7 separate regions of the Homo sapiens genome follow, and all the other regions are linked to region 1. Evidence: promoter capture Hi-C in 16 types of primary human blood cells and fetal thymus (Javierre and others, 2016). All regions are on one chromosome and are shown on one strand. The core of a region is centred on a gene start or on the middle of the fragment in contact, and the rest is flanking DNA. Distances in the headings are between cores, read along the strand shown. Region 1 holds the start of PAXIP1-AS2 (PAXIP1 antisense RNA 2). Region 2 has its middle 28 kb from the start of SHH. Region 3 overlaps RBM33 (RNA binding motif protein 33). Region 4 overlaps RBM33 (RNA binding motif protein 33). Region 5 overlaps RBM33 (RNA binding motif protein 33). Region 6 overlaps RBM33 (RNA binding motif protein 33). Region 7 overlaps RBM33 (RNA binding motif protein 33).

Evidence for each region. The method cuts DNA at HindIII sites, captures the fragments that hold promoters and counts their contacts. A CHiCAGO score of 5 or more calls a contact.
Region 2: a contact is called between a fragment that was not itself captured here and the fragment with the promoter of PAXIP1-AS2 in region 1, in 3 of 17 cell types (fetal thymus, M0 macrophages and activated CD4 T cells). The highest score is 8.4, in fetal thymus.
Region 3: a fragment that was not itself captured here is called in contact with the fragment with the promoter of PAXIP1-AS2 in region 1 in 10 of 17 cell types (fetal thymus, activated CD4 T cells, M1 macrophages and 7 more); the score reaches 12.3 in fetal thymus.
Region 4: a fragment that was not itself captured here is called in contact with the fragment with the promoter of PAXIP1-AS2 in region 1 in 7 of 17 cell types (total B cells, fetal thymus, naive CD8 T cells and 4 more); the score reaches 12.7 in total B cells.
Region 5: a fragment that was not itself captured here is called in contact with the fragment with the promoter of PAXIP1-AS2 in region 1 in 7 of 17 cell types (naive CD4 T cells, fetal thymus, activated CD4 T cells and 4 more); the score reaches 8.7 in naive CD4 T cells.
Region 6: a contact is called between a fragment that was not itself captured here and the fragment with the promoter of PAXIP1-AS2 in region 1, in 4 of 17 cell types (total CD8 T cells, naive CD8 T cells, monocytes and 1 more). The highest score is 6.9, in total CD8 T cells.
Region 7: a fragment that was not itself captured here is called in contact with the fragment with the promoter of PAXIP1-AS2 in region 1 in 4 of 17 cell types (non-activated CD4 T cells, naive CD8 T cells, total CD4 T cells and 1 more); the score reaches 7.1 in non-activated CD4 T cells.

What each region holds. Positions count from the first base shown.
Region 1 is chr7:154,925,714-154,929,766 of GRCh38, reverse strand. PAXIP1-AS2 (PAXIP1 antisense RNA 2) reads right to left here and starts at 1,250. Exons shown (of 8, transcript NR_024476.1): 1 at 1,000-1,250; 2 at 743-811. RefSeq lists enhancers at 620-839, 990-1,089, 1,110-1,169. The HindIII fragment of the contact is 7,419 bases long and covers 1-2,575 here.
Region 2 is chr7:155,782,625-155,786,677 of GRCh38, reverse strand. No RefSeq gene overlaps it. Among named protein-coding and RNA genes, the nearest start is that of SHH, 28 kb to the left of the region's middle. RefSeq lists a silencer at 317-517 and an enhancer at 3,606-4,053. The HindIII fragment of the contact is 927 bases long and covers 1,529-2,455 here.
Region 3 is chr7:155,747,021-155,751,073 of GRCh38, reverse strand. The region is part of intron 14 of RBM33 (RNA binding motif protein 33); the gene reads right to left. Among named protein-coding and RNA genes, the nearest start is that of SHH, 63 kb to the left of the region's middle. The HindIII fragment of the contact is 295 bases long and covers 1,885-2,179 here.
Region 4 is chr7:155,727,622-155,731,674 of GRCh38, reverse strand. The region is part of intron 9 of RBM33 (RNA binding motif protein 33); the gene reads right to left. Among named protein-coding and RNA genes, the nearest start is that of SHH, 83 kb to the left of the region's middle. RefSeq lists an enhancer at 3,150-3,650. The HindIII fragment of the contact is 4,593 bases long and covers 1-4,043 here.
Region 5 is chr7:155,709,979-155,714,031 of GRCh38, reverse strand. RBM33 (RNA binding motif protein 33) reads right to left here. Exons shown (of 18, transcript NM_053043.3): 8 at 2,577-2,829. Among named protein-coding and RNA genes, the nearest start is that of RBM33, 67 kb to the right of the region's middle. The HindIII fragment of the contact is 1,306 bases long and covers 1,707-3,012 here.
Region 6 is chr7:155,691,200-155,695,252 of GRCh38, reverse strand. All of the region lies in intron 5 of RBM33 (RNA binding motif protein 33), which reads right to left. Among named protein-coding and RNA genes, the nearest start is that of RBM33, 49 kb to the right of the region's middle. The HindIII fragment of the contact is 1,641 bases long and covers 841-2,481 here.
Region 7 is chr7:155,669,441-155,673,493 of GRCh38, reverse strand. RBM33 (RNA binding motif protein 33) reads right to left here. Exons shown (of 18, transcript NM_053043.3): 3 at 579-627. Among named protein-coding and RNA genes, the nearest start is that of RBM33, 27 kb to the right of the region's middle. The HindIII fragment of the contact is 2,057 bases long and covers 1,263-3,319 here.

The DNA.
Region 1 (4,053 bases), core at 1-2,500:
TTCTGTCTATATTATTCCTGCCTGGATGACATAGTGAGGTCTTCACTGCTGGAGAAGGGAGGGCTGGTGGGCCAGAGGGGAGACCCTGCAGAGGTGTGCAGTGTCCTTCTCTGCTGTTCATCTCAACCCGCTGTGTTAGGAAACCAGGAGGAAGCCCTACCTGGAATGAAACAGGTGCCTAGAATGAAGAGGGTAAGGACAAGGTTTAAGACTGTGACACCTGTTGCTTAAGAGACGCATTTAGGAGTGTGGCATGTAGATCCCAAATGTCCGTTTTGTAAAAGTTGTTGTTATTGTTTCACTTTTGTTGTTGTTGTTTGTTTGTTTTGAGATAGAGTCTCACTCTGTTGCCCAGGCTGGAGTGCAGTGGTGCAATCACAGCTCCCTGCAGCCTCAACCACCTGGCTCAAGCACTCCTCCCACCTCAGTCTCCCGAGTAGGCGGGGCCACATGTGTGCACTGCCATTCCTGGCTAAGTTTTCTTTTAATTCTTTGTAGAGACAGGGTTTCCCTATGTTGCCCAGGCTGGTCTTGAACTCCTGGCTTCAAGCAATCCTCACACTTCAGCCTCCTAAAGTGCTGGGATTACAGGCGTAAGCCACCACGCCCAGCCTGTTGTTATTGCTTTGAAGGAGTTCAGGAAATGCCACCCCCATGGCACTTGGGAGTGCTGATCCCTGTGAGCTGAGGGCACTTGGGAATCAGCGGATGCAGGCAGAGGTTTCCTCTGAGCTCCCCTTACCTGCCTGAAGACGGATCCTCCAAAAGGAACTCAGCTGTCATGAATCGCCTCCCCAGGAATCTCGTCAATCTGGGAGGATTAACACAGATCACAGGAGAGGACACTGGAGGTGACATCAGCCCAGATGACTATCACCCGTTCTCCCGAAGGCGGCTCTGAGATGTTTACGACCTCAGAGACATTTCATCCACAGAGCAGCACAACCTTTACTCACCAGACAGTCCCTCCCCAGGCTCTCCCATCACTTGTGTTCTCACCTCCCCTGGAAGCCCCGGGAACTTCGAAGTAGGCTTCTGTGGACTCCTGCCACTTCATCAGTAGCTGGGGCCCTGGTACCAGCACAAACTGCTTGCATCCAACTGACTTCACCAGACATACGGGCGTCTTTGGTAAGACCGCTCTCAGGTTTTGAATCTCCCAGGTTTGGGCTGAGATTCAGATTTTATTTAAGTAAATGAATTTCATGCTCAGTGGGACTGATATTGAAGCCGCCATTTAGGGCTTTAAGGCAGGAGTTTCGCGTCATTTCTCTAAAGATTCTGCTATTGGCAGGTTTGTGGTTTCACTTTTCTATTAGGTTAAGTTTTCGTTCGTCTTACTTGCTCTTTTGTAACCTTTTCTCTCATTGGACATTTTACTTGCTCAAGTTTGTAACCTTTTCTCTCATTGGACATTTTTTTACTTGCTCAAGTTTGTAACCTTTTCTCTCATTTGACATTTGGTTAAAGAGAAAGCAGTTTTCTTTGTAAAAGGAGAAAGTGAATGTTTGTGGCTTAAGCCAAATTTGTGGCTTTAAACCAGCCAGGCTTTGGATCTTGGTTAACATTGAGATTTAAAGTTTCTTCCTGAGTCACCCAAAATTTGTAAAAGGTTGGAATGAGGACGTGATAAGCTGAAGACAAAAAGGACTCTTTCTCCCAGCTGAAAGGCACCTTAGGCAATGGAGGTAACACAAGGGTGTGGAAGCTCACAACAAACCCCAGAGAAGAACTCACAGGGAGAGCTGCTTAACCCCCGGGGCACACAACACACAAGGGGTTCGTCACCCAGTGCCTTGAACTCCCAGAAATGTCTGGGTTTCTCTGAGGTAGGTAAGAGGGAAGAAGCTACTTGTAGGTGATACCTCCAGGAATAATCCCTACTAAGCAGCACACTGGACCCCAAACACTTTTCCCTTTTAGCCTTTGGGCATTTTAAAAGAGAATCCAAATTATGAGCAATTATCCATCTATAACCAAGCCCTCATTAAGCAATGCACCTTTGGAAACTCCAGCGGGGTTTATGTACAAGACTTATGGCGCCACCTCCTGTCGATAGTTGGAGAAATGGTCTTATTTGACCTAAGAAGATCCTAAATTACAATGATCAAAGAGAATTATCTTTGAAATAGCTAGATTAGTTTATTTATATGCACAATTTTAAAAAGCCAGCTATGGAATCAAATAAAATAATTAAGAGAGTTACTTCCAATGGCACCCAGAAGCATCCAAAAGAGGTTTTGACAGAATTCTTCCCTTAGAGGAAGAAAATAAAAAGCACTCTAAAACCATTACTGAATTTTAAAAAACACTGAAATGTCTTCTTCTCTCCCTGCTCCCCTGTCTCTCTAAGCCTCCTTGTCAGAACTACCCAGCCCTGATTGACCTTCTCCTCCTCCTCCTCCTGCCCCTCCTCCTGCTCCCACTGGTTTGGCTCCATTTCATCCAGCATCTGGTAGAGGGGAACCTGCTTTATCAATCATGATCAAACTTACAGGCATAGTTAAAAGAATTCCTTGATCTTCACCAGGTTCCTATTGGTTTTGCTAGGAAATTTGAATTAAATATCCAAGCTTATGACCCTAGTTATTCTGACTTCTAGCAACAGATTCACATGTTAGTAGCAAAAATTAAAGCTAAAGGCTGGCTAGACAAAGCTCACTGGAGAAATCTGTTAGGGATCTTCATAAATGTTCAGAAGAGGACCATAGACAGGCTTGAAGAACAGCAAAGGCTTTGCATCAGGCTATCTCCTCAGTTTTTCAGAGTAGTCAACTGGAACAAAATACAATATCAACAAAATTCAGATGAGTCAGTAATATACTTTGAGGGCTGTGGAAAAAATTTTAAAGAATATTTAGTTTTATCCGAAGAAAGCTGTGCTAATCATCGAAATGATACTCGACTCCAGTTTAACAAATGAGTTAGATGAATTGGAACTAACAATGAAAAGACAAAGTTGGGCCACTTCTGATACTCATGATTTGGTCAGTCTCATTGACCGGTTATCTGATACCTTAACTGAAGAAGAAAGAGAGAGGGAAGCCAAACAAAAGAGCGAGGCTAATACAATTATGAATTTACAATTAAAACAACTATTCACACAATTTTGGCCTTCACAATACCCCTAGAAACTCCCTAATGGACCTAACCTTCCACTTTGCAATTTTTGCAAAAAGCATGATTACTTTCAAAAGAGTTGCCAAAAATGAAAAAGGAAAGAATGTTAACCAGTGGAGGCAGAAAAGAAAACAGGGGTGCTCCAAGGAACTTAAAGGGGCCTTTCATTTCCTCCTTACTAACACTGGGAGAAATAAAAATTATTATAAATGGAGAACTAACACAAGCACTTATTGACACTGGAGCCACATTATCTGGAATTAATCCCATCTTGGTACAAGGTCCCATTCCTTGCAGTAAACAAAGAATTCAAATGGTGGGCATCACAATCCTCCTGTATTGGCATACCAATCTCAGCCTGTAACCTTTCAACAGTGTTCGTTACAAGGAACTCATGCCCTCCTCTTTGTTCCATCAGACCCCATCCATTCAACAGGAAGAAACTGCTTAGAATTATGTGATACCCACATTTCTTTCTCTCAAAGGAAGGAAATATATTTAAAATTAGATTATAAAACTCAACTTTGAGACACAACAGATATTTTAATAAAATTTTCAAAATCTAATCCAATTGCAATCCATATTGCCATGAAAGACAATGAATTATTGCTTAATGAAGAATTACAAAATGTACTAAAGACAGTACTTGATCCATTGTGGTCAGTGTCCTCCATTGATATAGAAACTATCATCTCAGCTACTCCAATAAATATTTAAATATACCCATGGAAACATCTTCAAAATACAAGACAATACCCCTTGAGAACTAAAGCTCTAGGAGGGATAAAGCTTATAATGTCAGATTATATAGAAAGATGACTGTTCATTCCTTGTACAAGCCATTGTAATACCCCAATCCTCCTGGTAAGAAAACCAAATGTTAGAGAATGGAGGTTTGTACAAGACTTGAGAGCAATAAACAACATGGCAATC
Region 2 (4,053 bases), core at 743-3,242, 860 kb before region 1:
CCACCGCGCGCGGCCTTGTGTTTCTTAATGTAGTATTTGGTTCACCAGTATTTTATTTAGGATTTTTTTGCATCAATATTCATAAACATTATCGGTTGGTCATCTTTTCTGTGCTATCTCTTCCAGGTATAGATATAAACGATATATTTGCTTCATTAAAAGGATGTGGAAATTTTCTCATTTTAAATGCTTTGGAACAATTTATGCAGCATAAGTTATATCTGGTCTCCAAACATTTAGTAGAATTCCTCTGTAACATGTGGGCCTTTCTGCATGCCTAGTTTTTTGATCATTTTATTTTTTTCTGTAGAGATTGACTGGTATGAGCTTTAGATCTCCACAGCAGTTGATACTGATACACTGTTTATCCTAAGAAATTGTCCATATCACATAGGTTTTTAAATTATCTGCAAAAAGATCTACAAAGTAGTCTTTTATTGCTTACAAAATCCCTTTTATGGGCAACGAACTTGAATAGGTGTTTCTCCACAGAAGATAAACAAATGACCCACAAGCATATGAGAAGATGTTCAACCTCACTAACCATTAGGGAAATGTAACTCCAAATCACAATGAGACACCCCCTCACACTCATTAGGGTGGCTATGACACACACAAAAACAAAGAAACATAAAATAGCACATGTTGGTGAAGATGTGGCGAAATGGAAGAAACCCTTGAGCACTGTTGGTGGGGATGTCAAATGTTGTGGCTGCGGTGGAAAAGAGGATGACAGTTTCTCAAAAATTAAACATAGAACTGCCATGCGACCCAGCATTTCCACGCCCCCATACAGACACAGAAGAATTGGAAGCAGGCTCTTAAAAAGACGTGTGCACACTCATGTTCGTAACAGCATTCGTCATCGTCAAGCATCCCGTGTCCACTGATGGATGAATGGGTAACAAATGCACTGTGTGTTTATAATGGAATATGACTCAGCCTTGAAAAGGAAGGGAATCCTGACACAGGCTGTCACATGATGGACCTTGAGGACATCGTGCCAAGTGAACCAGGCCAGTCACAAAAGGATAAGCACCATAGGATCCCAACCACATGAGGCACTTATTGTCGTCAAATTCAGAGGCAGAAAGTGGAGTGGGGGCGGGGGGTGCTGGGGGCTCAGGAAGGGGATGGGAGTTTGTGTTTCATGGGGACAGAGTGTCAGTTCTGTAAGAGGAAAAGGTTCTGGAGATGGATGGTTGGGACAGCTGTACAGCAGTGTGAACATATGTAATAAAACAGAACTGGACACTGACAGTTAAAATCATATATATTGATGTATAATTTTGATGCTACATGTTTTACATAATTTGATGTTACGTTCTACAATTTTAAAAAAGTCCTTTTTATCAATAGCAATTCTTGTGTTTCTTTTTATTTGTACATTCTTTTTTCTTAATTAGCTAGCGGTTTGTCTATTTCACTGATTTTTTTTTCTAAGGACTGGGATTTTAATCTATTAATTTTGTTAAATAAGTGTTTTCCCTTGATTAAAGACTAATGGGAGAGAAAATTTCAGGAAGCTTCACATGACATCATCTGAACGGCTGTCATCAGAGGCTCCCTGGCAAGGCTGGTGCCATCATCTCAGGGGCACGGCCATCCTGGGAAGCTGAGGCGAAGCCTGCCTTTGGTGACTGAGGTGCACATTGGCAATGTAAGGGCCAGGGAAGAAGCCGAAGCCAGGAGCAGCACTGGAAGGCACACGCCTGTCATCCCAGCCCTTTGGGAGGCCAAGGCAGGCGGATCGCTTGAGCTCAGGAGTTCAAGACCAGCCTGGGCAATGTGGTGAAACCCCATCTCTACAAAAAATACAAAAATTAGCCAGGTGTGGTGGTGCACGCCTGTAATCCTAGCTACTCGGGAGGCTGAGAGGGGAGGTTCTCTTGAGCCCAGGAGGTCAAGTCTGCAGTGAGTCAGGAATGCACCACTGCATTCCAGCCTGGGTGACAGAGAAAGAAAGACCCTGTCTCCAAAAAAATAAGGAGAACAAAACATGGTATCATTCTTCAGACACCATCCACAGATGCTCTCCCTTGATGGTGAGAAAAAATTCTCTCCATTGTCAATTTTAGAGAAAAAACACGACTAGCGTCTGAGATTGAAAACATCCAGGCTAGCTTTCGAAGCTGGGTGAAGAGCTTAGGTGCGGTTTTCATTACACCTCCTCAACAGCAGCTGTTGTTACTTGGAATCAGAGAAGTGCTCCTCTCCGTCTGGTCTGAAGGGCATCTGCCCAGTCCTCTAGTCACCTGCAGTGGGTCGGGAGGTAGGGCTTTCTTTCTGGAGGGGTTTCCTCAGTGTCCAGCTCTGCAGCCTGGTGCGACGACATGTCCAGAATGCCCCACTGACTTTCCTGTCTGGATCTACGTCGGACCCTAGAGAAGAGCCGCAAGGACCTCTGCCCTCTCGCTGCGGCCTGCAGGCAACACCAAAGGTCAGCAAGAAAGCTTCCTTTTTGAGCGTGAAGCTTCAAAACTGCCGTGCTTCTCATTTCTTTTAAGCACACAGCAACGAGCTGCACCTCAAGGTGTACAACACATGGCTCTGTGCTTCTGTTCCTAGAGCCACCAATTGTCAGTACTGTGTGTTTCCTACAGAACTCTTTTATCACTTACTTTTCCCTTCAGACGTGACTGTCACTCTTTCAAAACATGCAAATACATGTTCGAATAAGAAAAGGACCTGGCCGCACACGGTGGCTCACACCTGTAATCCAAGCACTTTGGGTGGCGAAGACAGGCAGATCATTTGGGGCCAGGAGTTCAAGACCAAACTGGACAACATGGTGAAACCCTGTCTCTACTAAAAATATTAAAAATTAGCTGAGCATGGTGGTGCACACCTGTGGTCCCAGCCACTGGGGAAGCTGAGGTGGGAGGATCAGCTGAGCGCAGGAAATCAGGGCTACATTGAGCTGTGATTGCACCACTGCACTCCCGGTGACACAGGCAGAAACCAAGGGTGAGATTTCAGGACTCAGCGGCCATGTTTCAACAGGAATGATCAGTGCCACACACCTGAACCACTTCCAAACCTCCTGTGTCTGGGACGGGGACACCCCTGGGCCTGCCACAAATACACTGCCTCACGTAATTGGTTGCACTAAATAAATACACACCAAGACCTCCAGCATGCCAGGCACTGCTCAGGGGGCAACTATGGGAAATAACAATACCTTCTTCAAAGGATCTACCACTCTTGAGTGTACCCTTAATTCAAAGAAAGCCCCATTTTCTCCCTGAAATGTCAAGGCGTTTTTTGCCCATGTTCTGTAGAGATCCCATTACCCAAAGTACAGGTTTTAAAAACAAGGAATGACTTATTCTTGAACTATGGATTAAAGAGGAAGAAAACTGCTTTGGGCTCTAATCACATGGCATTTTCAGATTATGACTTAGGCTTAAAAATTCAATTAAATCGGATTTGAGAAATTCACCCAACACATTTCGCTTTTGTTACCTGTTGCTTCCTCCTCCATTTCAATTTCCCAAATTTGCCTCTTCTCTTGCTTTCTTTCTTCCTTACTTAGGTCCAAACTAAGGCACTTTCCTTTTCATCCTTACGAGAACGGGGAAAACAGGGTGATAAAATGTATCTTTGAAAGCAGCCACCGTCTGCCCACTGCAGGCCACCCTGCTTGTGGAAGGCCCCCCGTTTGCGTTACGGAACCAGAGTGGAAACTGCAAGGTTTTATTAACATGGCTTCCAAATTACATACAATGTAGTTCAGTTTTTGGTATGAAATCACACAAATGAAACACACAACAGTACATTTTCTTGAAATGTACGTAGTTGAAACTACGTCACTAGAATTCACATGTGCATTACACAGAGGTGAAGAGCATGAAGAATGGCTGTGTGGCCCTCCCGCACCTGCCTGGATGGCCTGCTTCCGGCCCTGGGGAGGGACAGCCACCGTGAGGCAGTGAGCCTGTGAAACCCGCTCTCAGGGATGAACACAGCTGGAACCTTGCATGTGCGCTCTTCCCGCATACCTAACAGTGCTTCCACAGCCACTGTGCTCTCCCCCAGGGTCCTGCCGGGTGG
Region 3 (4,053 bases), core at 783-3,282, 820 kb before region 1:
TAACTTTTGAGAAGGTAGGAAGGGAAGAAATTTACAAATGCAGTCCAAAGCCATAAATGCATGATCCCACAAATAAACTGGGACCTTCGGCATGCAGCATTTTGACAGCCTTTTAAAAATAAAATACAAGAGCATCACAATTGGACAGCTGGCTTTCCTGCGGGGGCATTCTGTGCTGCTCCCATTTCTCTGTGTGGCCAACAGAATAAAGGACTGTTTACTTAATTTGCTGCCAAATTCTTAAAATTTTCATTAACTTGATTAGAATAAAGCAGCTGAATTGGTATTTGCTTTCATTTTCTTAAAGATCAATATAAACAGCCACTCCAAAAAAAAAAAAAACCATTTTCTTTTTCCTTCAACTAAAAGGGTGGTAACATTTATTGAGTTATTATCACATACTCAAGCACTGTACCACTAACTTTACATGATTATGACGTTTAATCCTTACAAGGATCCTGGGAGGAGAGTTGGTTCTCATTGTACTGATGAGGAAACTGGGATTCATTGAGGCCAGGCAACCAAGGTTACAGAGATGCAAAATGAAAACCAAGATGCAAACACTTCAAAGACTATACCATTCTCCCTAAATAGGAAGACAGAAACTGACCGCCTAAGGCAAAGAATTTCCCCTGGCACTTGTTTGTTCTAATTCCTTTTTCCTGTGTTTAATCACACAGACTGGTTTTAGATGACTATATAAGTTTACACTAAGTAAATATTTTATACTTTTTATATTTGCTGTTATTACTTGAATTGTTTTTCTGGGAATTATGTATAGGTTATGAACAAAATTATAATGTAACAAGGTTGTTCTTTTGGTTTCTTAAACACTGAAAAATAGCTTTCTGAGAAATGGGCAAATGGAGAATATTTCTATATTCTAAGTAATTAAAAGAGAACCATTCCATGAAATATAATTCTACAGATGAACTATTTACTTAATAGTCAGGAAGGCACATAAAATTTTAGCAGTATTTGCTGCTAACACTACTTATAAGCAGCATTAATTTGTTCCTTTTGTAATCTCACCTAGCAAATCCAGACAGTAAAATGAGTGGGAAAAAAATGGAAATTCACGTACACAGAAATTGATTAGCCTCATAACAAAAGATCTCTTTCCATTTCAAATTCCCCTAATATTTCCCTTCAAAGTTTTAAATGCAAAATGTGACTTAATTTGATTCACACAGAAATGTTCAAGGATAGACTCACACAGCACATAGCAAGTGATGGCTATTCTTAACCAGGACACAATATGCACTCCCTTTCCTGGGCCAGCAGCCCAGGTTCTGGAACCGGGATGATGGAACCCCAGCCACTCGCCAGGCCTATATTCAAAGCTGAGGCTACTTACCATCCAGGCTGCGTTTTCATGTATCAAATCCTTCTCAGCCTATTGTTCCAGGCAGTCACTATCAGTCTGTTGCACTGGCAACCAAAATGAAACCTAACCATCATCATCATCATCATCATTATCCTAGGAGCCCCCATTAAGCATTTTCCGAATCAATCTAGACTGCTAATAGTAGAATATTATCCCCAATCAAGAAACAAATAACACCATGAAAAACACAGCAGATAAAATAGACAACTATCATAGACAAGGGTGAAGAGCGTAAGATTCAGCACTAACCCACAGGTGGAAGCCCAGCTTTACCACCTAGTAGGTGTGCGGCGGCCCTAGGCTGGTTACGTAGCCTCTTTGAGATTCAACGCACTCGCCTCAGAAGGATGTTGTGAGTACATGCTAAACACTCAATAAATAATAGCCACTACTATTATCTGGCATAAAAATCACATAATTTATTTCTAAAAGGGGCCTTAGAAGCATTCTACAAAGAAAATGGGAAGTTATGAAATGCCTTCTGTGTACCAGAAGCTTTCATTTACTGATGCCTCACAGCAGACTTACTAACCCCACTTGCAGATTGGAAATTAAAGTTCAGAAAAATGAAATGATTGTTCGGGGTCCCAAAGAACAGACAACTATTCAAACAGGAGTCTTTCTGCACCCAAAGCCACACTGTTTTACCCCATCACATGACTGCGTGCACAGGTGAGCTCTCAGTCCTAGAGAAAGGCTCCAATCTCTATACAGCAAGAAATTTCAGAGCAGCCAACGGCAAAACGCAATGCCAACAATAGCCCTTGAATCTGCATAGTCACTTTTCAAGCTTTAAACCAAGACGTTGACCCTAGTCAACACAATCGTGTAAGAAACAATACCAGGAATCATGCTGCTCATCTCTTTTCGAAAATGTTCCCTATGCACACGCATACTGCAGCAGCAGCCACAAAGGGGACCACCAAGAAAGGACTAGACATTCTCTTACAATGACAAGGACCAAGGAAAATCACCTGAAAGGCGATATAATTAACCACAGGGCAGACTACAAAAACCTATGGTCTTAAGACTCAGCCTCTCTCACCTTTCAAAAAACCCAGTTTAATAAAACCCAACGATAAATTATTTCATTATAAGTAATGACATATGGAAAATATAGAAGAAAACTCCATTTGATTCACAATTGCCTCACAGACATGAGTACACTCACAGAAACCTAATTAAATTGTATATCATAGTAAGAATGGCAAGAAAACTGTGCTTTCATAAACATGTGAACAATCCTGTGGACACATATTTCAACTGCAATCACCCACCAGAGCACAAGTTCTTGAATGGCACTATGCAAAGATAGTTTGCTATCCTGTCTAGAGACGTGAAGAATAGGAGACTGCTGAATGCAAAGAATAATTGAATTAAATGCATTAGATTTAGTTACACTAGTTAAATTAGAAAAAAGGGAAGGAGGTAATTTAGGTTAGGATATAGTATAGGTTAGAAAAAATGGGAAACGCGAACCAACAATAAAATGTTTTCATTAAGTAAGTAATCGTAAAACTAAGATGTAGATAATAATATCCTGTATGGGTGCCATGCACAAGTCAATCCTCCCCAGATGCCAAGCTCCTGTCAGCCAAGGTCTGCTCAGCCCTCGGCTCCTGAAGATTTTCATAGGCAGGAAACATCCCTGAGCATTAAGACCACAGCCCCCATATGCAGAGAATGCCTCTCCAGCAGCCAGGAACAGAAACACAAGCCAAAATAAATGCTTCCTTTTTGCATTGTCTGAAATAAGCACAATTTGCAATTAACCACCATTAGGAATATGTTCTCTCAAAAATAGTCCTCACCCACAAAAAAACAAAAAACAATGCCATTAGGCAAATCCTATTTGTTCTGGTTCAGAGAAATACGAACAAGACATCTTCCCTGCTAGGTCAAAAGTGCCAATGTGCTATTGGAGGGGACTGAGTAAACCCTAAGATACGAACATGTGGGCTAGTTGACACTTAAGAAGTAAAAGATAAAGAGCTGTTCCAAAGTACTGGTTTGACAGCTATTTTCATGAAAAATTCCTTTGTTTTTCCTATTTATTGTAAAATTAGCATGATTTTGGAATTAGGTCTGATATAAATTTTTTCCATTGGAGAAAAAGAGTAAAAATTCATGTAGATAAAATTCTTTTAAAGGAAAGCTGTTTATGAGTGTAAAAGCTGCTCTTTGATGGTAGAAACTGGACCCTTCACTTCCCAGCCTGCCAGTGCAGAGTACATGCAGCCCTCTACATCGGCCATTGTAACAAACAGCACCAGTTCTGGTTGCTATGGGAAAAGGCCTAATTCCCAACAATGGCCAACATCTCATCTTAAAAAAAGTCTGTAACACAAGTAAAAGAATGAGACACTGATTAACACAGTACACTTAAAAACAAGGTCAAAAGCAAAAGGGCCATAAACACTGAAGAAACTGAGTGCTTGAGTTCTCACCTAAAGGTAACAAATTCATATAATATGAAAACAATTTTATGTAACACCATTCTTCTCAACATTTCTAATTACAACGAATAGATGTGAGAAAACAGATTCAGATAAAGACTATCCTACTGGATAGTCTACATATGGAACTTCTAATCACAGTATTTTATAAAGATTTTCTTATAGCACATGAAAAAGTCAAAGTTTTGTTCTACAAACCTAGAAATAAAA
Region 4 (4,053 bases), core at 498-2,997, 800 kb before region 1:
TTTTACACCATACACCTTTCTGAGTAGCATGATGAAATCTCTTGGCATCCTGCTCCGTCCAGCCCGGGGAATGAAATCATACCTTTGTCCAGAGGATCCATGCTGAAGACACTCCCTGCCTGCTAGCCCATTAGTCACTTGGTCAACGTCTTGGTTATTAGATTGACTGTCACAGTACTGCAGAGCTTGCATTCAAGTAACTCATATTTTACTTAATAATGGCCCCAAAATGCAAGAGTAATAACTGTTTTATTGTATGATTAGCTATTGCTGTTCATCTCTTATTGTGCCTAATTTGTAAATTAAACTTTATCCTAGGTATATATGTACAGGAAAAACCATGGTCTCTACTGGGGGTCTTCCAGTACACGCCCCTCGGATAAGGTGGGCACCACAGCACTGGCCATGCGGCTGCTGCAGCAGGACTCTTTATAAACCTTCTTTCCTACCTTCCATCAGGCAGCTAATTTCAAGTCCTCAAAAAGATTTTTCTCATTATAGATAAGGCAAAATGTAACTGGGAAAGTAGACTGGCCTCCACTCCACTCTGAGCGGAGAGTCAACCAAGGTTCGATTTTTTACTTTGCCACAGGTTGTGATCAGGGAAAAGGACTCTGTCTTTAGCTCTTTCATCCTTTTCTAAAAGGAAAGAGTTACTGAATTAGAAGAAACTCAAAGACTTTAGTCCACAAACTTAGTTTTCCATAAAATTCCAAGCTACCTGAGAACTAGGTACATCACCTCTTAGGTCTCTAAGCACTATCAGATTCCCTGGAAGATTTCCCTGGAACTTTAATATTGTGATTTTCATCTCTTCCCAAAACTTTCTTTCCTTTAACTGACTATTTACATGCTGTCTAAATGCACAGTCACTGGCATCTGAATGTTACTGGTACGTAACAAAGCCCCGAAAATTCTCTCATGATAGTTTTTCCACACTCAGTGGAAAATAAAAGCCTTTAAAATCCATCACTAATGTTTAAGCAGAACTTTATTCTAACTTACAGTGATCCTGTAGGTGCTCAGGCTGAGAAGCAGCACCCATCATCTAACCTGACAGCTCTCCCAGCCCTGTCTCCATCCCAGCCACTTACCAGCTACAGCCTTGAGCTCATGACTGAATCTGTCTGGGCCTCAGTTTGCTCATCTACAAAACAGCAATTAGTACCTACCTCACAGGGGCAGGAAAGTCCTTAGGACAGTACCTAGCAAATAACAAAAGTTCACCATACATGTCGTTATCATTTTTACACCTTTTTGTAGACAGCAGCCCAGACTGTAAATACGATATATAGCTTCTGACATATTTCCATATCTTCTGTCATATTTCCATGTTTCCATATATGGTAAAAACCAAATCAGTATAGATTCCCTGCTTGCATTCTTATTTCTGAGTTCAAATCAGAAATCCCTCATAAAGTACCAGCAAGTCCTAGAAACTCTGTCTCTTGAATGTCTCCAATCCACTTCCACTTCTCTCTGCCCTTCAACTGCCGGGTCCGTGAGAGCTGAGACCAGGCCTGTCTTACACATCAATGTGTTTCCATACTTGGCCCAGTGCCTGGCACACAGGCGGTCATAAATATTTAATGGATGAATGAAATGCCTGTTTGTAATAGCAAGGTATTCCCCGAGCCTCACATTCTCAACCTGGAAGTACTGCGGCATGCTGTAAAACCAGCTGCCCACAAAGCACAGGGAGAGGTGCTGAATGGCTGAATGAAGGAAGGAAGTAACAAAGGTTAGGATGTACTAACCTAGACCTCGGGCAGTGAACTGCCTGAGGCTCTTAAGCTGAGCAGATGTGAAACACATACAGTGCACAAGGACCAAACAGAAGCCAAGATCTGGGGTGATCACTGGTTTAGAGACAGAAAAATTAACAGAACTGAGTTCTTACATGTATGACAGAATTTTTTTTTTTTTTTTTTTGTTAAAGAGACAGGGTCTTGCTTTGTCACACAGACTGGAGTATAGCGGTGCGATCACAGCTCACTGCATCCTCAAACTCCTGGGCTCAAGTGATCCTCTTGCCTCAGCCTCCAGAGAACCCGGGACTACAGGCATGAGCCACCATATCTGGCTAATTTTTAAATTTTTTGTAGAGATGGGGTCTCACTATGTTACCCAGGCTAGTCTGAAACTCCTGGCCTCAAGGGATCCTCCCACCTTGGCCTCCCAAATCACTGGGTTTACAGGTGTGAGTCACTGCATCTGGCCAAGAGAAATTATTTTAACTTGTATTCTAACTATATAATATCATTAGAGAAGGACCATGCTGACTGGCTTCTTCACCCTGCAGCTGGGAGAAGAGTGAGGATCACTGGTGGGAGGCCAGAACTTCCATGCTGATAGGGTTTGGCTCTGCATCCCCACCCAAATCTCATCTCGAACTGTAATCCCCACGAGTGGAGGGAGGGACCTGGTGGGTGGTGACTGGATCATGGGGGCAGTTTCCCCCACGCTGTTCTCATAATGGTATGTGAGTTTTCACAAGATCTGATGGTTTAAAAGTGGCACTTGCCCCACTTTGCTCTCTCTCCTGCCACCACGTGAAGAAGGTGCTTGCTCCCCCTTTGCCTCCTGTCATGATTGTAAGTTTCCTGAGGCCTCTCCAGCCATGCGGAACTGTGAGTCAATTAAACCTTTTTTCTTTATAAATTACCCAGTCTTGGGTATTCTTTATAGCAGTATGAAAACAGACTAATACACATGCTGTCTCATTTAATCCTTATCACAACCCTACAAGGTAGGTATTATGCTCACAGAAATCTTCTGACCATTTAAATAACCTTCACTTAGTATACGGTTAGAAAGTGGCAGAACTTGAATTCAAACCCAGGCTGCCTACCTGCAGAGCACACTGTGAATTCCTTGGTATGAACAGCAAATGGGGAGGGATTTTTCTCACATTCCCTAATCAGTCCCTAATCATATGTTTTATCATCACATATGTAAGTGTAATTGTGCAAGTCTACGTGTGTTTCAGAGTCAAGAAAACCAGTAAGTACTACATCAAGTCAAAAGTCAGACAGTCATGGAAATTTCATGGCAGGCTTTAATAAGTAAAAGAAATTATCAGTACTCACCTGATCAATCTACAAGAGCTGCATTAAAGAGGTAAGACCAAAGAGCTATCTAAGATTTAGAAAGAAACCGTTTACTCAGGGTGAGTAAACAAGGCAATTTCTGACCTTGGAATTTAGTTAAATAGAGTAAGAACGGAGAAAGAAGGATTTGCAAGTGTAGCCTGGAGTATGTACACGCTACAGGCAAGGTGCTGTCTCCTCAAGCAGCTGGGTGAAGGGCAGTGAGGAGGGAGGTAACATTATGTCATCGAGTGTACAGGACCCAAAGAACCTGAAGTACCCACTGACCTTTACAGGTGGAGAGGCTGGCCCAGGGAAAGAGAGCAACTGAATGGTAGATAAATCCAGTCCAATCAGGAAGAAGTCATGACGGCGCATTTTCCAAAATGACAAATGCCCGCATATCAGCCAAGTGGTAGCAGGATAAGAAAAGAGGGCAGATAATGCAAGACACCACTCAGAAAAAACATTCAATGACTGATCCGTGAAATATACCAGAGTGAAAAGGGTTGCCTCAGCTGGGGACAGTGCCTCACACCTCTAATCTTAGCACTTTGGGACCCCAAGGTGGGCTGACTGCTTGAGCCCAGGAGTTCGAGACCAGCCTAGGCAACACGATGAAACCCTATCTCTACAAAAAAAGTACAAAAAAAAATTAGCCAGGCATGGTGGGACACACCTGTAGTCCCAGCTACTTGAGGCTGCGGTGAGAGGATCACCTGAGCCCGGGAAGCCGGGCCTGCAGCGAGCTGCGATCACACCACTGCACTCCAGCCTGGGCTACAAAGTGAACCCTGTCTCAGAAAAAAAGCGGGGATGGGCGGTTACCTTTTTGGCAATGTCAGATGCTATTGGACAGAAGGGAGAGCTCACCTGGGCAGATATGTGGCTTGCCACTGCTCTAATAGAACTTGAGAGTTTAAATATTTAAATAATTTTTTTAACGTTTAAGCTTTAAGATCCC
Region 5 (4,053 bases), core at 1,110-3,609, 780 kb before region 1:
TTCAACACGCCCTCCTACCTCCCCACTCTAGCTCCCTGCTACCCACCGAGGAAACTGAGGCCACCAAGGAAGAACTGACACAAGACTCCTCCACCTGCCCATCCATCTGCCCCAGCTGTGGAGGACTCCCTGCTCCTCCCCCTCAGCAAGCCCACCTCTGGCACGTGGTCCTGGACAAGACAAGTTTTTCCTCTCATCTGCATCAATGATGTTTTTCCTTCTTAACTAGCTCTTTTCTGTAAGTGCAATGAATAAAAAACTTAGAATAAAAAACTTTCTCTCAAGCCCACTTGGCTCCCATCAATTATCATCCAACTTCTGTTTTAGCAAAACACAGTCAAAGTCTGTCAATACAGTGGCCTCAAGTCCGTGCCCCATCTCAGCCAGGCCTGTGCCTCCTCCTCACCAGCCCCGCCCCAAGTGCAGGCCACACCCACTGACCCATTGGCAGCAGCCCTGCCAGCCCGTGGCCACCTGCTTCCTTCCCCATCGACCGTCATCCTCCTTCCTCCCTCTCGGCTCCTTTGCCAGGCTCTCCTCCTGCCCCCATTCCCACGTCGAGTGCCGGGGTCCCAGTCCTTGGCCTCCCTGACGGGTTCTCCTCCTGCCCCTCCCCCTCCTGTGTCAAGTGCCCTAGGTCCCAGTCCTTGGTCTCCCCACACACAGACTCCCTCCTCCAGGGCTCTCATTTGAGGGCAGGGTCTAAATCCACCTATTCACCAACAACCTCCTGACCTGTACTTTGAGCCCAAACCCCTATACTGAATTCTCATCCAACTGCCTACTAGACCCCTCCACTCACATGGCTAGTTGGCATCTCAAATTTAATGCACCCAAAACAGAACTTTTGATCTCCCCACCTCAGGTGATGGCAACCAGACCAGCCCTCTAAATGCTCTGGTCACCTGGGCATCACTCTTACCTCCTCTCTCCCTCTCACACTCATCCAATCCATCAGCAAATCCCATCGGCCCCATCTTCCTACTTCATCCAGCTCTGAGCTCTCTGCACTCTCCCTGCTACCACACTGGTTTGCACCAGGATCATCTGTCACCTCCTAGCTAGACACCAGCTTCCACCCTTGCCACCCGACAGTCTCCTCTCAACACGGCAGCAAGAGGAATCTTCTAAAACATACACAAGGTCACGTCATTCCTCTGCTCAAACCCCTCTAATCCCTGCCCATTTCACTCCCTGCCAAAGTCCTGAGAATGGCTGGATGGCCCCACGGCCCCACGGTACCCAGGTTCTGCATTTCTTCTCTGCTTTGATCACTCCACAAAAGTCACGCTGGTCTCCTTTTGGCTACTCAAACACACAAGGCAGGGTCTCTCCTGGAGGAAGCCCCCTTATACTTGCTGATCACTCTGCCTGCAATCTTCTTCCCTGAACAGCCACATTGCTAACTTACAGATATCCCTCAACTCTTTCCTGCTCAGTGAAGTTCACCCTGATCACCCCATTTAAGATACAACCCATCCCTTCCCCGCATCCTGCTCAATTTCTCACTGCATTTTCATCTTCTAACATGCCACATAAAATACTTATGTTTACTGCTAATAAACAATAATAAGACTGTCTGATAGAAAGTAATATCATGGTTGAAGAAAGCTTTGTCTGGTTTGTTCGTCAATATAACTCAAATGCCAAAAATAGAGTAGTAGCTCAATAAATGTGTGTGTTCACAGGTACATGAAGTTAAAGCTTCGTATAAACTGCTCAAAAACCGTTTCCTAGCTTAAGGAACATGTTTCAGTAATAATCAGATCTGTATTTATTTGATTACAACAACTAAAAGATGGTGTGTCCCCTCTCCACCAGCTGACACTGGAATTGAAGGGGGGCATGCTGCCTGGAACCAAAGAGGGACACTCACCACTGCAAACATCCTCACCGGGAGACTTACAAAGTGTCACAGTTCAGGCATTCCAATAGCGGTCTCTAGTGTATTCTTTGCATTCAGACTGTACTCTCAGCACTTTCCACTCAATTATACAATAAGAGATACACATTTTTAAAGAAATATACTTGACCCATCAAACTAAAATCTAAATGAATGGGGAAGAGCCAAGGAAAACTCAATCTTACAAATTTGAATGTGAAAACTATTTTGCCGCAGAGACGGCTTCAGTGCAATAAACTAATAAATGCCTTCAGATGCACAGTAATCTATAACATAACAGATGCTCCTCAACATAGGATGGGGTTACATCCCAATAAGGCTATCGTTAGTGGAAAAGACCCTTAGTCAAAATGCATTTAATATGCCCAACCAATGAAACATCATAGCTTAGCCTCACCTACCTTCAGCTCAGAACACTCACATCATTGCACAGTTGGCAAAATCATCGGGGCTGGGAACCGCAGCTCCCCCTGCCCAGCTTCGAGGGAGTTTTGGGATGCATGTTGCTACCCCAGGAGAGATCAAATCTCAACATTCGAACGATGATTTCTTCTGAACGCATACTGCTTTCACACACTCATGAAGTCAAAAACGCGTCAGTGGAAAAATCCTAAGTCAAACCATTGGAAGCTGGGGCCATCTATGCTTTACAATAGTAAAAGGAAACACAGACCTTGAACAGGCGTGACCACCGTCCCTTTGAAGTGCGGGTTGATGTGTATGTTCTTGGGCTGCTGTGGAGTCACGGGTGGCGGGGTCATCATCATCCTTGGGGTCTCTAGCTGGGGAGGCATGTGCATTCCCTGAGGCGGGGATGGGTGGTGCGGGTGCTGCACCGGAAGCAGCGGCTGCAGCGGCTGCGGCTGGAACAGGCTTCTGATCGGCTGCTGCTGAGGCGGCGGTGGCGGTGGAGGGGGAGCCTGGGGCTGTGGAGGAATTAACCTTGGAGAATGAGTCTACAAATCACAAAAAAAAAAACAAAAGTTCACCGAAATCAACATTTAAAAGAATGCTGATGTGTTACAAATTTACACTGATTGCATTTTTTAAGTTACAATGTAAGAAGTCTGTAGTAACAACTTGTATCAAAACAGCAGGATAAAGAAGCTTCTCTACTTCTTCACAATGAGGGCTACAGTCTCACAATTGAGTCAATCCCCACGCAAGAGGGAAAACAGCCCCAAAGCACCCAGTGTGAATTTTGAAAAAAAAAAAAAAAATTCAGTTCAGGGAATTGAACTGCCCACACTGAGCAAAGCCCTGTGCCAGGGACAGAAGAGCAGCTGCCACAGCCCTCCCTGTAGCAGCCTTGCATCCCCCTCCAGGAACTCTGGTAAGCAAGGCAGGAGATGTGCACCAGTTACCCTGCTCCAGAACTGAGGCCTGAGAACAGGACAGGGCCACAAAGAGCCTCCAGGAGAGGCTGGGAGGGAGCTTCTCTGAGAGGGTGACACCTGAACTCGGTGATGAAGAAGAGAGAGGTGCAAGGCAGAGTGAGGGACAGATACCCAGAAAAAAGCAGAAGCAGCACAGACCCACCTGCTTAGTAAAATCAGGAGACCAGGGAAGAAGGCAGGAAAGAAGGTAAGAAAATTACACACTCAAAGTGATCAGAGATCTCAATTCGAGGGTGGTTATTTTATCAAACAGTCACTAGAGAGGAAGAAATCAACAACTGCAACAGCTGCCGTGGACTAAATCTTCCCCACATTTTAAGTTCCTACTATACGGTCAGTAGAGAAAGTCAGCTGACCTAGCTCCCCACAATCCTATAAACTAGGTCCTATTTACTGACCTCCTTTTACAAGATCAAGTAGCTGGAAAGGAGAAAAGCCGGAACTGGAATTCAGGCCATCTGATTCCACAGGTTTTGCTTTTAATCACTAACCAAACTGACGACACAGCTAATTAGCAGTAGACCACTACTTATTCAGTTGTCTAATTTAACAAGCATTTTCCCTGAGATGATGCCAAATTACGGAGGGCTTCTAAATTCCAAGTAAATGATCCATTACTATGCCACAGAGACAACACGTATAATAAGGGATCACGAATGATCTCTTTGGTAGGAAAATGATCATTCACAGCAGTGTGAGATGAACGAGGGTAAAGAAGACGGAAGGAGACCATCTAATAGGGAATGGTGAGAG
Region 6 (4,053 bases), core at 412-2,911, 770 kb before region 1:
ATATATAGCATATATAGAAACAAATAAAAAGACAACCCACTTTTTTTTGAGTGAGAGACTAAAACTAGAAGCAAAGAAGATATACGGAAGTCCAATCGCACATGGAATGGTGCTCAACATCACTAGAGGTCAGACAAATGGAAACTAAAACCACGATGACACACTCACTAGAAGGATTAAATCAAGAGATTGGCAACATTAAATGATGAGGAACAATGAGGTACTCCCCCACAGTACCGGTGGGAGTGCCAAATGGTACAGCCACTTTGGAAAACCAATAGTGGTTTGTTATAAAAGTAAACATACCTCTAGACCGTCTCAGCAATTCCACTACTTGTTAATAACCAAGAGAAACAAAAACATACATCCACAAAAAGATGGGTAATATGATCCTTTTAGTAGCTTTATTCATAATAACAAAAAAACTGGAAACAACCCAAATGTCTATCATTGGGAGAATGAACAAATGGGGTACATCCATAAAATGGAATAAATTATTAATACACACAACTACTTGGATGAATCTCAAAAACGTGCCGAGCAACAGAAGCAAGACACAGGAGCGCACACACACTATATGACTACATTTAGGTGATGTTCCAGACTAGGAAATGCCAATCTAGGTATAGAAATAAGAACGCTTTACTCTGAGGAGTCAGGACTGAACAGACAAAAACATTCTGTGTAATGGAACTGTTCCTTATCAACCAAGGGATGGTAACTTGGATGTATACATGTATCAAAACTTACTGTACACTTTACATCTATGCTTATCTCTAAGTGTAAACATTATCACCATTTCACAAGTATTTTAAGTGGTGCAAATATGTTTTTAAAGCTTCTCTCATTTCTTCCTCTACACATGCCAAAACTATGTGAAAATGGCAAGTCTTTTTAAATAACTATGTTAGAAGACAATAGCATAACTAGCACTAATGTGGCCGCATTAACTATAAAAGACTGATATTTAGTCTTTATAATTAGATCTAACTTGTTTCAAATATAATGATTTCTCTATATGAACCAAGGAAGAACATTAGTTAAATAAAAGGAGTCACCTAAAATAGGCTTTTCAATTAAAATTAATTAATTGCTTTTAAGTTCTATAATTAAGATTCTAATATAGACCTTAACAGAGCTCCTAGAATGAAGTCATCTGGAAAACCGCAACACCCTTTCTGCCAGTCTTAAGCAATGCAGACCAAAGCGTGCGGCAACACAGATGGGGCACAACAGGATGCTCGGCAACAATGCAGATATTTAGGAAAGGGAGTCCAGGAACTAGGAAGACACCAAAACAGACGGATATGTGGCACATTAAAAATGGTACTCCTCCCTGAGGACTACACAGTTTATTTAGACTTCTAAAAAAGATGGATCACAAGCCCTCCAAAACCAAATCCTACAAAAGTTGAAATACTAGCAACTTCTACTTCTCAGCACTTAAAACAGTATTATGCGCATGAGTTCCCAATAATTATCTCATTGACTAATATTCTACAATGCAGCCGGGAAAAAAAAAAGCCCCAAATATTTATTGCTAGTGGAAAAGACCAGCACATCACCAGCCTCCAGGAAGGACAACTGAAAGTCCTAAGATCAAGAGCATCACAAAGAACCTGCCATCATCACAAAAGCAAGCAACATAAACAAAGTAAACTAAAACCATCAAGGAAAGGATAAAAAAAGTAAATATACGAATACCTTTTAAAAATATTTTTCAACAGTAAATTTAAAATTAAATTATGAGATACACAGTTTAAAAGTAAAAAGTAAATAATACATCTAGCAGATGGTATAAAAAAGACAAAATACTTAATATGGATGAGCTCTTACTTTCTGCTAGAAAGATTCATACTGAAAACAACCCTTAGGAAGTTTCATGTGAGAGTGTTAACAGCAAAAAAAGAAAAAAAAAAAGAAAAAAAAATCACAAGAGTGAAACAGATGCAACTTCTAGCTCTTTGCCTTCCAAATTCAAGGGTCGGCGTTTAACCACCTTATGTTTCCCTGTCTTTTCATATTTAAAAAGGAAAAAGAATATTTCTCGCTTACAGTAAAAAAATTTTTAAATCAGAAAATATTGGAATACAAAGACTAAATAATTCCACCATTTAGTAGTAATCATTATTACCATTTCCATCTGTAACTACATAGACTTTTTGTTTTTTTTGAGAATTACACACACATATTTAGATTTGCAGTTACAGGGGGAGCTGAAGGGAAGAATTCTATCATCTTGCTCTTTACACTTAATGCATCACGAGCACCTTTCCAAGTCAAACAGAACTAAGACAACACTTGGTATACTGCATTACACTTTAAGGTTAGGCCATGATTTACTCTTTTATACATTGGTTCCATTTATTTTCAATGCTGCAAACAAATACTTGATACATATACCTTTGAACACAGATTAATTCTTTTGGATAAATTTGTTAAAGTGGAATTGTTGAGTCCAAGGACAGGAGCTTTAAAGCTTTTAATACTGTCAAGAACAGTGAAGAGTATAAGATTTTACTCTACTTGCAAGCTAACAAGTTAGTTGGCCACCATTTCACGGAAGCTGTAAGAAAGCTAAGACTCTTCGTCAGAAATAAGGAGACTAGGACAATGTTATCTGTATCACTAGCAGTAGCATTCTGCACCAGCTCCAAGAAGCCCCACTCCCAACTGGGCCGTGTGAAGAGAGCCAGGTGACCCTGCACACATAGGAGGTTGTGTTACAGGAAGGACTTCTCTGCACAGGAAACCCTGAATGTGTCACAATGGGGAGTAAGCAAACCTGTCCTTGACTCCAGAGGAAGACACTGCATCTGTAGCTGTCTGCTACACCAGAATCCTCTAAAAGATATTCCGGAACAAAGGACAGGCAGTGATTTGCTCGCTTTGCTCACAAAACCTGCAGCTAAATGAAGGACCCTCAGAAAACTGTCTCCTGACAATGTTACCAAAACGCTCCCTCAAGTGAATCAGACTACATCTGATCAATAATTCTGAGGTCTGTTAATATTAAAGTAGGTTAAAATTCTCCATTTTCTTTTAATTTTTACTGAATATATTTTCATACACCTATTGTTCATTTGCTTAATCAAGTCCTGAATTACTGTCCCACATTATTTGTCCTTCTTTTTCTCCCTCCTCCCCCACACAAGAGACACTGAAAATCAAAGAAAAAAAAAATTTTCTTTTTTTTTTTTTGGACAGAGGGTCTCACTCTGTCACCCAAACTGGAGGGCAGTGGCGCAATCACAGCTCACTGCAACCTCCACCTCCTGGGCTCAAGTGATCCTCCAACCTCAGCCTCCTGAGTAGCTGGGACCACAGGTGTGTGCCACCACACCTAGCTAATTTTTTGTATTTTTGGTAGAGATGGGGCTTTGCCATGTTGCCCATGTTGGTCTCCTGAGCTCAAGTGACCCGTCCACCTAGGCCTCCCAAAGTGCTGGGATTACAGGCATAAGACACAGCACCCAGCCAGGTCACCATTTTTTATAGTAGCTCTCTTTTGTTTTAATGTATTAATTAGGACTGTCCAGGAACTGAAGTTAAAAACGTCTAGAACTAGAAGGCACTTCCAGAAGGCACCCAGGCAATGATAATACTTGTTAACATTCTTTAACTGCCTTGCAATAAAAGTTTACGTAACCATCATTTGAAAACTGAAATCTACAAAACCTTTCCCTATTTTAAGATATGCTACAAATATTATAGAGTATCAGGGAAGAATAAAGAAAATATTGTTATCTAAAAACTAAAATAAATTACAAGGAAAAACAAACAATAAAATTAGTTTTCCAACTTCAAAATACCACAAACATCCAAGCTAAATGAGGAAGTTCGAACCCATCGCAAAGAAGCTAAAAACCTTGAAAAAAGATTAGACGAATGGCTAACTAGAATAACCAGTGTAGAGAAGTCCTTAAATGACCTGATGGAGCTGAAAACCATGGCACGAGAACTACGTGATGACTGCACAAGCTTCAGTAGCCGATTCGATCAACTGGAAGAAAGGGTATCAGTGACTGGAGATCAAATGAATGAAATGAAGCC
Region 7 (4,053 bases), core at 1,042-3,541, 740 kb before region 1:
GTATATATATACACACGTGTATGTATATATATATGTGGGTATATATACACATACACACACACACACACACACACACACACACACACACACAATATATATAAATAGATATACAAATTTTTTATTTCATCAAAAAGATTTAGAAAAACCTACATTAGGTTTTAGACTTTTATTTATTTTAATGTTTATTATATTTGAGTATGTTTACCTTTAAGCTTATCTCTGAATGCCTCCAAAAAGTGAAATCCAGAACAAGTATGCAAAATATTCACCTCCAAATGTGACTTTCTGTTATGGCAAGGAATAACTCTATGTTAACGCTGTCACAATCCAGTAACTGCCAGAGTGCCTTGGACAAAGTAGGAACTAATCTTCAAGGATTTATTTCTTGAGTTATAATTACCAGAGAATTTACTAATAAACAGTCAATTCCCTGCGCACTTAAAAAATAATTCAGTTTACAAAATTTTAATCTATACCCAACTTTCCAGTAATGAAACCCATGTATAAGTGATTACTGCTGTATGTTAAGTATAATTAAATGACTAGTATTTCATCTCAGAAGGACATAAACTTCTTACCTTTTTGCCAGATAGCAAATCTTCTCCAAGTAAATCATCTTCAAGTTCACTTGGGAGAAAAAAAAGAGACATGTCAATGATTATTCCCATAAGACTTGCAAGTTTGTAGATCACTTGGAAATTTACCAAGAACTCTACAGCTCAGGTACCTTTTTTTTTTTTTTTTTTTTTGAGACAAAGCCTCACCGTGTTGCCCAGGATGGAGTACAATGGTGCAATCTCAGCTGACTGCAACCTCTGCCTCCCAGGCTCAAGCAATTCTCCTGCCTCAGCCTCCCAAGTAGCTGGGATTACATTATGCCCGGCTAATTTTGTGTATCTTTAGTAGAGACGGGATTTCACCATGTTGGCCAGGCTGGTCTCGAACTCCTGACCTCATGATCCGCCTGCCTTGGCCTCCCAAAGTGTTGGGATTACAGGCATGAGCCACCATGCCCGGCCAGCTTGGATACTTTTACATTAAGTTTGCTATGCTTTCCTCTTTCTTTATTAATAATAAAAATGTATTTTCAAATGCACAGAGAACATTTTATCTTTTTAAGTATGGGGAGGCTTTGCTATAGGTAGTGCCTCACTATACTTCTAATCTTAGTTTTGTACCTTAATATGGGATCTTAATCTCTTTGGGTCTGTTGAATAATCAGTAAAAGCAGAAACTGTAATATAGTAAGTCATATCTAAGCTTTCTCCTATCTTTAAAAACCTTAATGAAGAAGGAAAAGATGCACAATATAATTGATTAGGAAGATAAAAACCAAAACCACTAGAGACCGTTTGACATTCATCAAACCAAAAGAAACTGAAAAAAAAAATAAATTTTAAAAACGAACGAGAACATAAAATCAAATCACAGTAACTAAGGGAAATTAGCTTTGTATAACATGGATGTCGTATCAGTGATTTGCAATTTTTTCTAGCATATTTCTGTTTTAAATGATTAGAAGCCGGCTTTCTCCCTATTTTTACAACTAAAACAGAAACCCTTAGCAAATAAAAAAGCTGAAGACATTTTCCACTGCATTTATTAGAAACAAGATTTTTTTAGTTGATAAAAATGGCTACCACTAGATCATGTTTTTAATTCTGGGGAAATCAATCTCTTGGAAGCAAATATCATTAAAAGTCAACATACAGAAATATACAAAGAGGAAATACAATTAGATGGACTGTAACTCTAGGTGCCAATACTCATGGAGATTTAACTGCATCGATATTGTTATTAGAATTGCTGCTTTATTTTTAATAGGTGCTCTGGTTACAAAATTCTATAGGTATTGAGAAATCAGCAAAACCATTATTTTACCAAAAAATCATGTTTATTTTTAGCATGCCACTTTGCAGAATACTATAATCTCCGGGAATGCATATATGGAGTTATAATGAAATGCATGTTTCTATATAACGCCTTTTAGAACTAAAAACAACCTGACAAATCATTTAATTCATGCACTAAAGACTTTATTCGTTATTTTAAGTTATCCTCCAGTAAGTCCTATATTACATTTTACAGATAAAGAAAACAAGGATAGGACATGAAATAACTTGCCTAAAGTCACACAGCAGTGACAGATGCAGGACAAGAACTTAACAGCCCTTGAAAAACAATCTTTCACAAACTCCTATAGGATAGTTATAAGAGAATAACATATAGCTTCTTCCAACATTTTAAAACCACTATCATCTATCAAATACAATTTTTGTATCTTCAGTGTTCCAACTACCCTCCAGAGGCAGGGAGAAAACAATGCTGTCTAGTCAACAATATTTACAATAACCCCATTTGAAAATTTGATTCCAGATAACCAAAAACACACAAGCACCTCTTTTAAAGACAGGCACTCGTCTATACCATCACCTTAAGTAACTAAAAATGGAATGTGATGCCAGTTTCCCAGGGCAAACTGACAAAGTCATAAAAACAGGCATTAGTAATTATACAAGCAAAAATCTAGAAAGTATCTGTGCCTCTTGCTGACAAGTACATGGAAATAAATCAACCTTTAATAACTACTTATTTTTTCTCAACGAAAACATTTTTAAAAAGATAAGTAAGTGTATCAACTATAAAATGAGTAGAGAAAATGAAGACTAGTACTTGTTTCATGACTAATGAGAAACAGGATGGGGGACAGTGGGATTCAGTACAGAACAACAGCAAGTATAAACAGCAGCCCCAGCGATCCACAGCATCCGCTCAATGCACTTCTGTGCCAGGCACCACTTGACATGTTCCACACACACGAGCTTTTCATTGACATAATACCCCTCTCAGGTAGACACACCGTTGCCATTTTCAAAATGTGAAAACAGAGACACTAAGATGCTAATTTGCCCAAGGTCATCCAGCTAGGAAGTGGTGACACCAGTGAGAGAATCCAAGTCCTAACTACTATGCACACACCCCACAGAAACTACATGTACTTTTCTTCTTGTCATCGTAAAGCTGGACCCTCACAAAGGATGTACACATAAGGAATAAATTTATTACATATGTAAAACTACATCCACTCTTGGCAAAAACAACAATGAACTAATGGAAATGACTGGTCTCCATCTGGCAGTTTCAAAGGGGTGAGCAGTCACTCTGGCTGGCAGCAGCAGTAAGTGTTCTAGGAAATCAAACAAGCACTGGGCTGATGAAGAGGCTTCCTGTGTTCAATTCTAGAGTTCCCTAAAGATTCCACCAGTAATCACTACTTGAGTACGAACAATCTTTCTGGCAGGCATTTCTTATTAAAGCTTACAGACAATGAGCTCTTTGAAAGCAAGTATATTTTTACTTAGAAACAGAAGTTATCCTCAAAGACGTTTTTCAGGAAACAAGTATTTGTTGTCAGCCACTTGGCTACAGCCTTTCAAAACCAGAAGTGAACTTGACCACTGTAAGTGGGGCTGTAGTCTCTGGGTCCTCCCCACTCTAGTCCACTCTCCGTCTTACCTGCCTGCTCTGTGGCTGGATTGCGTCCTCCAGGAGCAGCTGGCACAGCCGGTCCTAACCTCTGGCTTCCAGATGGATTCGCCCATTGGGACGCACCAACATAACGTCACCAAGTAGGAGGAGAAAGACCGGCCCCTCCCCTCTCACCTGAAGAAATAGAGACTACAGTATCCCTCCCCCAACAGCCTTCACTGGGCCCTAGGACACCACTTCCCACAAGGCCGGGGCAGGAACTGGTACTCCCTGGATGGGAATGAACTCATTAGTTCTTTAACCCTGGCCTGTAAATAGACCCGTCATTAAATTTCTTCAGTTAAAACTTTTTGGGCCAGGCATGATGATTCACACCGTAATCTCAACACTTTGGGAAGCTGAGGTGGTTGGATCACCTGAGACCAGGAGTTCAAGACCAGCCTGGCCAACACGGCGAAACCCCTTCTCTACTAAAAATATAAATATTAGCCAGGCACGGTGGCACATGCCTGTAATCCCGGCTACTCGGGAGACTGAGGCATGAGAATCGCTTGAACCTGGGAG